Linked DNA regions of Homo sapiens: all the other regions are linked to region 2. Evidence: promoter capture Hi-C in 16 types of primary human blood cells and fetal thymus (Javierre and others, 2016). All regions are on one chromosome and are shown on one strand. The core of a region is centred on a gene start or on the middle of the fragment in contact, and the rest is flanking DNA. Distances in the headings are between cores, read along the strand shown.

Region 1 (4,408 bases), core at 1,364-3,863, 130 kb after region 2:
GGAAAGTGCTGTCAGGAATTGTCAGTCACTTCTTATTTTCAGTTGTTAGGGTGTTGTGAATAGTTACACTTGCAAAGAACAGCAGCCCCCGGAGCTTTGTCCTCCAAGCCTCAGTTTCCCTATCTGCAAAATGAAAATAGCGATGAGTGCCTTATGCTGGTTGTGGGAGTCTTGTGAAGAACATACTTGGCATGTCTCAGAACACACCTGAGCGTCTGTGCCTGGGACGGGCCACACTCACTGTCATCATGGAGAAGCACGGGTGGCTGAGGCTGGCCAGGGCTCCCACCATGCCAGGGAGTTGCTCCCACTGCAGTGGGGCTCATGTGCCTCTGGAGTCCGGGTGTCCTCGGGCAGGTCGCCAGAGAACCTGTCAAACCAAGAGTTGTATTGGCATCTGAGTAGGTTTCTGCTTGTCTCAGAGTCAGGTGTCTGAAATGTCCTGGGATCGATGGTAAGAGCAGCTAAGAGGTCTGCTCAGCTTACCCTCTGGGCTGGGGAGCAGGTCTCCCTCCAGAATTGGGGCCCACCCCAGCCCGTCCTTGCCAGGGTGGGTTCCCTGACCTCAGGCTAGAGGAGCAGCAGTGCTGAGCCTTTTCAGCTGTTGCCACCGAGCCAGCCATGCAGGCTCGGGTCTGACAGCCGCTCTGGACTCTGCATGCAGTGAATGTCCTGGACTTAAAGTGTTCCTGTTGGGTGCTCTAGCCTTGCCCTTGTCACTGCGCAGAGGGGAGATGGGGCCTGTGGAGGCTGGGGCAGCCCCCTCCCCACTCACCCTTGCACCGAGGGTGGTCAGGCAGCTGGTGTGCTTCTCCATGTGCAACCTCTCTCACCTCCCCTCTCTCTCCACAGCTCTGCTCTACAAGCCTGTGGACCGTGTGACGAGGAGCACGCTGGTCCTCCATGTAAGTCACAGCGCCCCTCTGGACCGGGACCAAAACTGCCCCCTCGGGCACACACAGCAACAATGTTCTGAGACCTTTTTTTAGTTGTCATAGCTGCAGCCAAGGGGGTGCTACTGGCATCTAATGGGTAGAGGCCTGGGGTGGTGTTGGACATTCTGTAGGGAAAGGACAGCTCTCTCTTGTCCCTCCACAAAGAGTTACTCCACGCAAAATGTCCACAGTGCTGAGGTTGAGAAACCCTGCCCTAGATCCTTACAGAGGAGTCCTTCTTGGCCATGTGCATGCAGCGTGAGTTTGCTGGAACACATGTAGGACCTGCTTCCAGGATGGTGCTCACACAAGCTCTGTCCACAAAGCTGGGGCCCAAGTGAGAGAGACTGTGGTGACACTGAGGGAGCCGGCGCTCTGGGCTCCGTCCACACTTTGTGTCTGCACTTTGCACACAGTGGCAGGTGCCAGTGCTCCTCTGTGTCTAACTCAAGTCTTTCTTCCTGGGGCAGGACTTGCTGAAGCACACTCCTGCCAGCCACCCTGACCACCCCTTGCTGCAGGACGCCCTCCGCATCTCACAGAACTTCCTGTCCAGCATCAATGAGGAGATCACACCCCGACGGCAGTCCATGACGGTGAAGAAGGGAGAGGTGAGTGTGGCAGGGGATGGCTTGGGTCCACCCATCCTGCTGAGCTGGGGGCATGCAGGGCCCCTCGATCTGAGGTCTGGAGCCCTTCCTGGTCCTCAGCAGACCTTGCCTTCTGGGATTGGTGAGATTGGCCGCACACTCAGTCCTGTGTGGAAGGTGTCTGGGTGCAGTCTCAGGGGTGACCCTGCAAGCACCATGCCCTCCAGGTGGCAGCCATCACCATGCCTCACTCAGCCACCTCTTTCCTTTTCTGTCATTGTGGGTTGTGTCCAGGGACCCCTTTTTTTTTATCCCCCACAGTCTTGCCAGCTCAGGCTCCCCAGCCAAGGAGACTTGTGCAAAGGAGGTGAGTAGGAGGATGGCATTTTGTCTGCCTGGAATCCTCCTACTTCCCCCTGAGTGCTTTCATTAAAAAACAGTTAACATCGGGTTTAAGGATTAGAAAGTGGGGTTCGTGGTTTGTGTCTGTGACGTGAGACTGGTTGAAGCACTTCACGTCTTCCTCCGGGAAGACTCTCCTTCCCCTTCCCCCCCGTCACTGATGTACTCTGTGTGCACATCATCGATGAGCAGGCATGGCCTGTGCCTGTGCCGCTCTGAGCCTTCCTAGGTGTGGCCTGGCACATAATGAGGCAGATGCATTCCCAGGCAGGTAGCAGCTACTGAGAACAGCCAAGGCGTGTAAGCTGGGGAGCCAGTGTCCAGGGGGAACAGCTTTTGTCAGAAGCAGCACTGAGGCGAGGGGAGCTGACCCCCGGCCTCAGGGGTCTCATGCAGGGACAGAAGCTGTCTGGCCCAGGCAGGACACAGGCTGGGCGTGAACCTGACTGTAGTTGCCTCAGAACCACCTCATGGCTGGGTGCGGTGGCTCACGCCTGTAATCCTAGCACTTTGGGAGGCCTAGGCGGGTGGATCAGGAGGTCAAGAATTCGAGACCAGCCTGGCCAACATGGTGAAACCCCGTCTCTACTAAAAATACAAAAATTAACTGGGCACGGTGGTGGGTGCCTGTAATCCCAGCTACTCGGGAGGCTGAGGCAGGTGAATCGCTTGAACCCAGGAGGCGGAGTTTGCAGTGAGCCGAGATCTCACCACTGCACTCCAGCCTGGGTGACAGAGTGAAACTCCATCTCAAAAAAAAAAAAAAAAAAAAAAAAGAGAACCACCTCCTTCTCTTTCTTCTGGTTCATGGGCCAGGTGGTCGGCACTGTACCAAGGACACGGGCCCTGTCCTCAGGGCCCCCAGGGTGGACCTGCCCAACACATGGGGCTTGCTTTCCTCCTCCTGCCCTGGGCCACCAGGCAGGCAGCTGTCAGCCCCATCTGCCACACACCACTTTGGGAATGGTACCCTGAGTGTCCAGAGTCTAATCCGAGTTGACCTTTAGTGAGGGACTTGGTCAGGTTTCTCCTGGTGGGCCTGGCCCAGGAAGGGCATGGAGGAGGAGGGAGCTGTCCCTTCCATTCCGCTCTCCGGCTTGTCCAAGCCCTGGAGCTGGGCAGACTCAGAGTCCCATGCCAGCATCGTGAGGACCGACCCACTGGGTGGCCTAGAGCTTCTCCCAACTGGGCCCATTCCTTGTCTTTGCAGCAGGGTGGGAACATGGCCCCACCTCATCGGGCACCTGGGCTGTCAAATGGGCATGATTTAGTGGCAGTCCTCGCCATCCGTGTTGGCTCCTTGGCAGTCTCTGAGCGCATTGAAGGCGGAAGTGGGTCCCCGGCACCTTCCAGTGGAGGCGTTGAGCAGTGCAAGTGTTCCCCAGCTGCTCATCCCATGGCTGGGACCTGGGAGTGGTGGGGGATCAGATCTTGCTTCTTGGAGCAACAACCGGGCCCTGCCCTTGGTTCTCTTCCCTGGCTCAGGGCCCCAGAAGGAGAGCAAACCTGTGACAAACCTGTGGGCAGTCCACACAGATCTAAGTGGATGTTGGATTTGCTTCTCCTAAGCCTCCACGTGCTGGGTGGGTTCCTGCCAGGTTCGCCCTACCCTCCTGAGATGCCTGCTCTTTCTCTTCTACCGACTATTCTTTTATGAGCGCTCTGACCTCCTGGGAAGTGAGTGTGGGCGTCCTTTTTCCCATGGCTTCTCCTGTGCCTAGTCTGCTCCCTGCAACTGCAGCTGCCATTTAGCATTCCTAGAGACAAGGAAGGGCCTTCTCAGTGCTCGGATCATTGGAATCCACTGCTTTGGGGAATTAAGGAAAACGCGATGTTGTCTAGAAGTTGACACCTAGGCCCTCGTTCCTGCATCCGTCCCCATGGGGGCCAACTTCCACGCTTACCCATGGTCATGTCTCGGGGCCACCAAGGAGGAAGTGTAATTTAAGAAGGGCTGGGTGCGGCTGGGCGCGGTGGCTCACACCTGTAATCCTAGTACTTTGGGAGGCCGAGGCAGGCGGATCACCAGGTCAGAAGTTTGAGACCATCCTGGCTAACACGATAAAACCCCATCTCTACTAAAAATACAAAAAATTAGCTGGGCGTGGTGGTGGGCACCTGTAGTCCCAGCTACTCAGGAGGCTGAGGCAGGAGAATCTCGTGAACCTGGGAGGCGGAGGTTGCAGTGAGCCGAGATTGTGCCACTGCACTCCAGTCTGGGCAACAGAGCGAGATTCTGTCTCAAAAAAAAGAAAAAAAAAAAAAAAGGGCTGGTTGCTTCACAAAGGCAGGGGCCTGGATCTGCATCCTCCCCAGGACCTCGCCCTGGTGGAGGGGCACTTGCTCATTGAGGAGGGGTCACCTGGGTGCCTTAGCTGCAAAGCAAGGTGGAGGACTAATGACTCTAGAAAAGTCACCGTGAGTCTGACCAGCACCCCTTCACTCAGAGCTTTCTATCCGAGGCACGTTAAGGGAGGTGGC
Region 2 (4,474 bases), core at 1,941-4,440:
AGACAAGAACCTCAGAGAAGTTCAGTCGTTTCTCCCAATTTTTTTTTTTGACGGAGTTTCGCTCTTTCACGCAGGCTGGAGTGCAGTGGCGCGATCTTGACTCACTGCAACCTCCGCTCCACTCCGCGCCACCGCACCCAACCCGGGTGCAAGTGATTCTCCTGCCTAAGCCTCCCAAGTAGCTGGGATTATAGGCGGCCGCCATCACACCCAGCTAATTTTTGTATTTTTAGTAGAGACAGGGTTTCGCCATGTTGGCCAGGCTGGTCTCGAACTCCTGACCTCAGATGATCCACCCGCCTCGGCCTCCCAAAATGCTAGGATTACAGGCGTGAGCCACTGCGCTCAGCCAGTTTCCCCCAAATTACATAGGCCTGATCTCAAGACTGCCTAGCCCTGCCCATGCCCCTTGCTCTTCAGGCTGACCGCCTGGTAATGACAAAGGTTAGCCTCTGCAGTGGACCCAACACACTGCTGGCCAGCGTAGCTGTTCTCAAAAGCAAGCCAGACCCAGCCACCACCTGCATAAAACCCTCCATGGCTCCCCACTAGTCTCAGGGCTGAGTCCAAACTCCTAGCCTAGTGCTCCAGTCCCTGGGTGATGGCCTCCTCCAGCCATGCCAGACTCTCTCTTAACCCCTCAAATGCCACCTCGCTCATGAAGCCTGAGCGCTCTGTAACACTAATTATTACCTCTTTATCCTTCAGGATGCAACTTGGTGAACACTTCTTCCATGAAACCTTCCTTCTCCCTGAAGGAGTGAAGTATGGGCCATCCCAAAATATGCTGGATTGGTATATTGACCATTTTGAGTGGACAACATTGGAAAAATAGTGGCCTCAGAAAGGGCTAACTGGGCCAGGTGCAGTGGCTCATACCTGTAATCCTAGCACTTTGGGAGGCTGAAGGGGGAGGGTTGCTTGAGCCCAAGAGTTTGAGGTTACAGTGAGATATGATCACACTACTACACCCCAGCCTGGGTGACAGAGTGAGACCTCAACTCTAAAATAAATAAATAAATAAATAAATAAATAAATAAATAAATAGATATAATTTTAAAAAAAGATACAAGAAAAGGCAAACAGATATGCTTCTTTCTGCATTCAGCAAGCCATAAAGATTCCTCTAGGAGCGGTACCCTCACTGTACCAGGGCAAGAAAATAGCCCTTGTCACCTGAGACTAAGAATTGGGGACTGCAATGGACCTGAATAAATATACTTAACCCTGTCTTCCACTAAGTTTATGCCCCTCATATTATCTCCTAGTGAATCCCCTAGAATTTACTGCCCTAGCCAGATCCCCTTTGTCCTGCCATTTCTTCTCAAATTTGTCATCCTTTGTCTAAAAAGTATAAAAGCATCTTGCTTTGGCCACTTCTCTAGACTTCACTCTGGTAAAGATCCCCATGCGCATGTAAAACTAATAACACTTGTATGCTTTTCTCTTGCTAATCTGCCCAGTGTCAGTTTGGTTTCTAGATCTAGGCAAAGAGCCCACTTAAGAGCTAAAGGAGGATTGGGGCCAGGTGTGCTGGCTTACGCCTGTAATCCCAACACTTTGGGAAGCCAAGGCCGGCGGATCACATGAGGCCAGGAGTTCAAAACCAGCCTGGCACACATGGCAAAACCCCATCTCTACTAAAAAAATTTAAAAATTAGCCAAGCATGGTTGGTGCGCACCTGTGGTCCCAGCTACTCGGGAGGCTGAGGCAGGAGAATCGCTTGAGCCGGGAGGCGGAGATTGCAGTGAGCCGAGATCACACTACTGCACTCCAGCCTGGGCGACAGAGTGAGACTCCATCTCAAAAAAAAAAAAAAAAAAAAAAAAAAAACAGCTAAAGGAGGAGTTCAGGGTGATCTCTAGCTCCTGCCAAATCCCCAAATCCAAATTAGTAAGTGACCCCACAGCTTAATCTTCCCTTCTCCTAAATCCCATTGGCACACTCCCTTCCCCTAATTCTCTATTTACTTCTCTGCTTCCCGCAGTGGACTCCAATTTCCCTGAGGGTGGACACCATGTCCGTTCTCTTTCCTTGTCTCCCCAGTGCTAGGCATATACCAGGAAGCTTTCAGTACATGTAGGACAAATGAATAGTTAATGGACTTGAATCAAGCTTTACAGTATAAAAGCACTTTCACCATCTCAGGTGATCCATTGAAATAGATAGTTGCGTTTATTTTATAGTTGAGTAAACTGAGGTGCGGAAGGTGGAACAACTCACCTAAGTTCACCCCCTAAGCCTCAACCTTAGCAGTGAAACTCACTAAAAGACATTAAACAGAGCCAGGTGTGGTGGCCCTTGCCTGTAGTCCCAAGGACTGGGGAGGCTGAGGCGGGAGGATTCCTTGAGCCTAGGAGTTCGAGTCCAGCCTGGACAACATAGCAAGACTCCATCTCTTTAAAAAAAAAAAAAAAAGACATCAAACACCAGCCTCCAGCACACTTAGCTTTGAATTGAAGATGACTGAGTTAGATCTGTGTACCAAGGCTTCCATATTGTGATGCAGAAAAGTTAAGGAGCTGAATTAAGTAGGTTCTCAAACTGAACCCCGGACTTCGAAGCTGGTTCCACGGTTTTATAAGGGCCACAAGAGGCCATCTAGCCCAAAACAGCTAACTTTCCAAACCGAAACTAGTTCAGAGGAAATCACTGACTCAGGTCAGCTTTTTATTAAGGAAATTAATTTTGTACCGTGAGCTCTAGAAGCCAGGCATATGATATTCAGACAGCACTGGATTCAGAACTATGCAGACTAAGGTCAGTAGATGGTAGGCAGGTCTATCTTCTGCAGCTGCAGGGTGCTTGACTCCAATTAAACATCAATACCACATCAGGAGCTCTTATGCCATAACCGCCCAACCTCTCCCAGCCGAGCTGATCACCAGAACCTGCGCGAATCTCTCCACGGTCAGCCCCACCCAGGGCTCAGGCTCCGCCCCCGGGCCTCCATAGCCCCGCCCACCGCCCACCCATCCAGCACCGCCCTTGTTGTCATGGTGATCTCCGGCTCTCCAGGGTGTCCAGGAGTCTCTCTGCTGCCAGCCCCGCCCAGACTCCAGGCAGGTTCTCGTTGCTATGGTGATCGCCGGTGCAAGCTGGATGCTTGGACGCGCCGCTGCCAGTCCAACGCAGACCCCGCCCACGACGTCGACGATTCGTGTAGCCCGCAGGTCCCGCGTGGCTCTCGTTGCCATGGTGATCGCCGCCGCTGGCTCAGGCGGACCAGGCCGCGCGGAGCCCCAGCTTTCACAGCCATCGCTGGTGAGTCAGCTCGCCCACTCTGTCCGACCCTCCCGGTCACCCAACCCCGTGCTGGCACATCCCGAGGCCAGGGCCGCGAGGGCACAGCGTCCGCGCCCACTTCCCGCCCCTATAACTTGAAAGCGGCCTGCGGCCCCGGGGCGTCCTCATTTCCGGAGCGCAAACTCTGGGCCAGGCCCGCGCTGGTTGTGGAGGAGAGCCAGGTCAGATGCGGGAAGACAACCGGACTCCGCCAGGACCACCCCAGCCCAGCCTGGAGAGGAGTCCGGACAGAAAAAGGAGACAGAGGGGCTGTTGAGGAGGCTCGAGGAGTCAGAGGCCTGGTGAAGTGAGGGTTTTCAGGGAAAAGGCCTAGTTGGCTGAAAGTTAAGGCCCCCAGGCCCACCTAGAGCCTTCGTCCTTTGCAGACTGGGAGCAGGAGACCCCTCCCCACTCTACTTCCACTGCCTGAGCTGTGCCATGCCTCACAGCCCAGTAAGGTAAGCTCAGAGGGGAGCTCCTCCTTGGTAGACACCTGTCAAGGGGAGACCCAGGTCTTCTGACTCCCAGGCAGGGTGGGGCAGGCCTGGTTCCCCCATACCATGCTGCCTGCTGTATGCAGATTGAGAGAAATGGCCTCTGCCCCATATTCCTGACAGAGAGGGAAGCCTGGATCTGGTTTTATTTATAATTCTTGAGACAAGGTCTTACTCTATCACCCAGGCTGGAGTGCAGTGGCACCTTCACGGTTCACTGCACCCTTGACCTCCCAGGCTCAAGCATTCCTCCCACCTTCCTCCCAAGTAGCTGGGACTGCAGGCACAGGCCACCATGCCCTGCTAATTTTTTTGGTTTTTTTTTGTAGAGACTGAGGTTTCACTTTGTTGCCCAGGCTGGTCTCAACCTCCTGGGCCCAAGTGATCCTCCCACCTTGGCCTCCCAAAGTGCTGGGATTACAGGCATGAGCCACTGCACCCAGCCTGGATCTGATGAAAAGTTAGGTGGAAACTCATGGGTGAATCCCCAGGTATTTGCACAGCTCCTTAACTGTCTTTCTCCTGGTTGGGTCCACAGGACTGTGGAAGAATGAGGTCCTCCCTGACACCTTTGGGGCCCCCTGTGAGCCGCGACCGTGTCATCGCCAGCTTCCCTAAGGTAGAGAGTCATTACGTCTGCAGTGCTCTCCTGGCCCTGCAGCCACATCAGCTCTCCCCACTCTACACTCATGCC
Region 3 (4,420 bases), core at 361-2,860, 190 kb before region 2:
CTAGAGAAGCCCGCCCAGCAGAGTATAAAAGAAATCAAGAATTTCCGGTGGACCCAGAACGTGTCACAGCTTGGGGCCAAATAAATTACACTCCTGCAAATGCCTCGGGCCTAGCTCCAGTAAAAAGTGACAGGACAGCCATGTGTCCAAAAGCTAGTGCATTGCACAGCAAGGAGGAAACCAATTTCCTTTAGCCTTTGCTCCCCTAGAGACGTCATATGACCAGAGTGAGGTTGGACACTCAGCTCTCTATCTTTTCAAATAATTCCCCATCTCCAAGTTCATGGAAAGAGAGAAAACCATCATGTCACCATAGCGATGACTCCTCTAATGATGGTTCAGAGTGGAAAACTTCTGACTTCAAGGATGGCCTCATACAGGATGGACGTGAATGCTGGTCCTCAAAACCCCAATGTCACATTTTTAAAAATCTGACCATCCCTCAGTCAGTGTCAGGGGTTTTCATGTGGGAAACCTCAAAGAAGGTGAGAAGGCAGGGGAGGTGTAACCCACAGTAATTATTAATAAAACCAACATTCCAGGACAAACTACTGCTAAGGAGGTTGAATTTTTTTTCTAAATGATCCTTCACAAGTAAAATAAGGAACTGGAGTCCTTGGACTGATCGCTATATTATGCTAAATGGATGACAGAATACAGCTCAGGAGTCAAAGATCATAAGCTTCCAAGTGGCCACAGGGACAATAAGCCTTTCAGCCCTTGGGTAATAAAGTCAGACAATCTGGTCCAGCAGCCAGAAGATGGCTGAGCTGGAGGAACATCGATGATGGGACAGTCCCAGCGTCCGCCCTCTCTGCTGGAAGGACATTAGCTGCTGAGAATAACTGGATCCAAATTGTTAACGTGACCCCCCACTGCTCATGGGGATGAAGAAAAAGATCTGGGGTGATTGGAACCTTACAAAGCAGGGACACAGATGCTTTATGTCTTTCGAAGGTCTAGTTGTAAAAACAAGACCCGAAAGCAGCCTCTCGGTCTTTTCACTGCTGGCCAGCAAAACTGGGAGAGGACTATGTTGTGATGTCCCCAGGATATCCTTCATGATTGCCACCAAGATCTGCTGGGATAGGTGCCCAAGACCTGGAAGGAACACTAAACTAGAGACCCAGGGATGCACACACCTTGCATGTTCTCACAATGAGGCTAAACCAGACTCATCACCGAAGAAATGCCAGCCAACAGCCTGTGGACATGGATGCAGATTGACTATTCCAGCCCCTCAGTGAACAAGCTCCAAGTGTGTTTCCTTGTAAAGCAGTTATACAGGTCAAAAATCACTTCATCACAAATGAAATACGGTCAAACTACCACAAAACACAGGGCTAAAATATCTCATCACCGGAGGGTGCCAGAGACCACCAAATATAATCCAGATTCAAGGCAGTCCATGTGAAAATTGCCCACCAGGTGGCGGAAATGCAGGGAGACGGCCAGCATGTACAGATAATTTGTTTCCCGGGTCCACACATTATCTGATGAGAGTGAATCTGACCCTAGAAGAGAACTACACAACTACTTGGTTGCATTAGGGTTCAACAAGACTGTGCACGCTCCAAAAATTCTCAAAAAGGTCAAATCCAAGTAACAAGGGTTTTAGCCTATGAACCAAGGTGTGGCTAGAGAAAAGATTGTTTGAATTTGAAAAGAAGCTAGGAGGTTGACTCACTGGGGCATCTATCCTTGAGTCTTCCTGCAGTGGGAGGCAGAGTGAGCGGTCAGCTGGGCATCCACATCTAGAGTGTTGAAAACCTCCTGGGGGTGGAGACGGGGGACTTCCACTTCCAGAATGGGCAATTGTGTGTGTGTATAAAATATTTAAGATATATGTATTTATTTAAAGTCTCTAGAAATGGCCTTAGGGCATACAGCAAATAAAAAAACATTTAATTCAAGAACATCTATTAAAACCTGGCAAGAAATGGGAGGGTCTGTGGCATTTCAACCACGACCTGCTCCATTCCTCCCACTGCCAGCAAAATGTGACAGAAACTCCACTCCAGGTGGGTACAGCCAAGGACACAGCACTGTCTCCACCCAGCTCCCAGTCAAGGGCTATGGTATTTTCCCAAGAAGGAAAATCCATCAGCATTTTTCTTCCCACCCCAGCTACCTGTTGCAGAGACTAAATTCCAGGTGATTGTAGTAATCGGTTGAGGCTCTCTTCTTTTGCTCAGCCCCTACTTGTGGGACAAAAGCCCTGCCTTGGGTGCAACACACTGAGAATACTGGCACCATCAACCAGCTCATTTGTAAAGTAGAGGTTCCATGCTATGAGAAGCAAGCTGGGAATACAATAGACTCTCCAATAAGCACCCACCTCCTAAAGCAGGGGTGTCACTCAGAAAGTAGCTACCTACCACTGTCCCCACCCAGCCCCAGAGCCATAGCCAAAAGCTCCTGAAACATTTCCCCAAGAGGAAAGGCAGGACATAGAGAGCTCTAAAGCCCTTCCCGAATGAACTGACTTTATTTGCAAATGAGTACAAAGTTCAACATTAAGGGGACTTTCAAAACAATGAAGCTTGGGCAAAAAGCAATTGAGAGGAAACTGGTAAGTTCATTAGTGACATAAACTAGACCATAGGCCAGCTAGTTTATCAGAGAGAACCAGGAAAAGACATGGCTAAAAACAGACCTCTTGGGGTCAAAGCAAACCTCAAACACTGACCTCAAAAACTATCCCTGCAAATGAGCCTCAGTTTAATTGGATAAGTCATCTCAATAAAGGTGTTTTTTAAAGAAAAAAAACAGCAATAACAATTATACATTCTGGTCAACATGGAGTAACAGGAGCTGGATTTATTTTTAGGCCTGGAATAATTTTAAAAACAACACAAAATATTTAAGTCACTGGACATCAGGCAATGAAAGATAGTGGTTTATAAGAGATGAGAAATGAATAAGATGAGCCCCACGATTGCCCCAGATTACTGCATGGAGAGTTTCCAGTCTGAGGCTCAAGGAGGAGAGAACGTAACCACAGCCCACTGGCCTCCCCGAGTTGAAGAAACAGAGCTGCTTGGGATCCCAGGCCGCTGGAGTTCATAGGGCAGAGTACCAAAGAGGAGGGAGCTTAACAGAAAGAGAACTCTGCAAATACGAGAGTGTAAGTATTATACTGAGTAGTGATCAGTGTATGCATATGAGGAATGTACCTGAGGCCAAGAAAAAGACTACCCAAAAGCATTGAACAGAACAATCCCCAGAGAAAATTCAGGGCTGAAAATAATGCCTGACCTCATCAACAAGTACAGAAAATCTCATAATTCATTAAGCATCAGGTAGAGTACTCAGAGGAGTCTTCCTGATCTGTGGACAAAATTAACCATAGACTTAATGCTGTTGTGGTCTCATGTAAAAATGTTAAAAGAAAGCTGGGGATAGATTAAACTGTTTCAAAATAATTTAACTGTGTACCAGAACACAACTTAAGAATACAAAAATATCTAGCACCTGCAAAGATAAAATGCACAATGTCTAGCATTCAACTACAAATTAACATGCAGGCAAAGAAGTGGAAGAATATGATCCATAGTTAGGAAAATATCAGCCAGTCAAAGCTGATCCAAAATTGACATAGGTAATAAATAGATAAGGTCATTAAAGCAGTTATTATAATACTATTCCATATGTATAAGGAACTAGAGGAAGGATTAAACATTTTTGGCGAATGCACAGAAGGTTTTTTCTAAAACCAAATTAAACTTATAGAAAACAATGTGATGAAAAATACACTAGATGGAATTAATGACAGATTAGAAACTGCAGAAGAAAAGATTAGTGAACTTGAAGGCAGAGCAGTAGAAATTATACAAAATTATCAGAGGGTTAAAGGACTAAAAAAATAAAGAGAACATCAGTGACCTGTGAGATAAATGCCAGTGGTAAAATATATATGTGGTTAAAGTCTCTGAAAAAGAAGAGGGGATTTGAAAAAATAATGACAGAAAATTTTCTTAATGTGATGAAAACTGTATACCTACGGATTAAAAAAGTTCAACCAACCGTAATCACAAAAACATGAAGAAAACCATACCAAGTCACACTATGATCATCAAATTTCTTAAACCAACTCATCTAAGAGAAAATTTTAAGTGGCCAGAAGAAAAAAAATACATTATATGCAGAAGAACAAAGAAAAGGATGACAGCAGATTTCTCAGAAAAACAATGCAAGTGGCCAGGTACAGTGGCTCATGCCAGTAATCCCACCACTTTGGGAGGCCGAGATGAGAGGATAACTTGAGGCCAGGAGTTCAAGACCAACCTGGGCAACATAGCGAGACCCTGTCTCTACAAAAAAAAAATTTTTTTAATTAGCTGGTGTGATGGTGCATCACTGTAGTCCTAGCTACTCAGGAAGCTAAGGCAGGAGGATCACTTGAGCCCAGGAGTTAGAG

What was found. The method cuts DNA at HindIII sites, captures the fragments that hold promoters and counts their contacts. A CHiCAGO score of 5 or more calls a contact.
Region 1: a fragment that was not itself captured here is called in contact with the fragment with the promoter of RAB36 in region 2 in 6 of 17 cell types (neutrophils, megakaryocytes, naive CD4 T cells and 3 more); the score reaches 10.5 in neutrophils.
Region 3: a contact is called between a fragment that was not itself captured here and the fragment with the promoter of RAB36 in region 2, in 10 of 17 cell types (megakaryocytes, naive CD8 T cells, total CD8 T cells and 7 more). The highest score is 11.1, in megakaryocytes.

The regions. Positions count from the first base shown.
Region 1 is chr22:23,272,229-23,276,636 of GRCh38, forward strand. BCR (BCR activator of RhoGEF and GTPase) reads left to right here. Exons shown (of 23, transcript NM_004327.4): 7 at 853-905; 8 at 1,406-1,546. Among named protein-coding and RNA genes, the nearest start is that of LINC02556, 52 kb to the right of the region's middle. The HindIII fragment of the contact is 8,216 bases long and covers 1-4,408 here.
Region 2 is chr22:23,142,287-23,146,760 of GRCh38, forward strand. It overlaps RAB36 (RAB36, member RAS oncogene family), which reads left to right and starts at 3,191. Exons shown (of 11, transcript NM_004914.5): 1 at 3,191-3,265; 2 at 4,319-4,399. The coding sequence starts at 4,331. It also overlaps a transcript of RSPH14 not described here. RefSeq lists a silencer at 2,944-3,013. The HindIII fragment of the contact is 8,574 bases long and covers 2,115-4,474 here.
Region 3 is chr22:22,957,978-22,962,397 of GRCh38, forward strand. No RefSeq gene overlaps it. Among named protein-coding and RNA genes, the nearest start is that of IGLL5, 72 kb to the left of the region's middle. The HindIII fragment of the contact is 1,860 bases long and covers 681-2,540 here.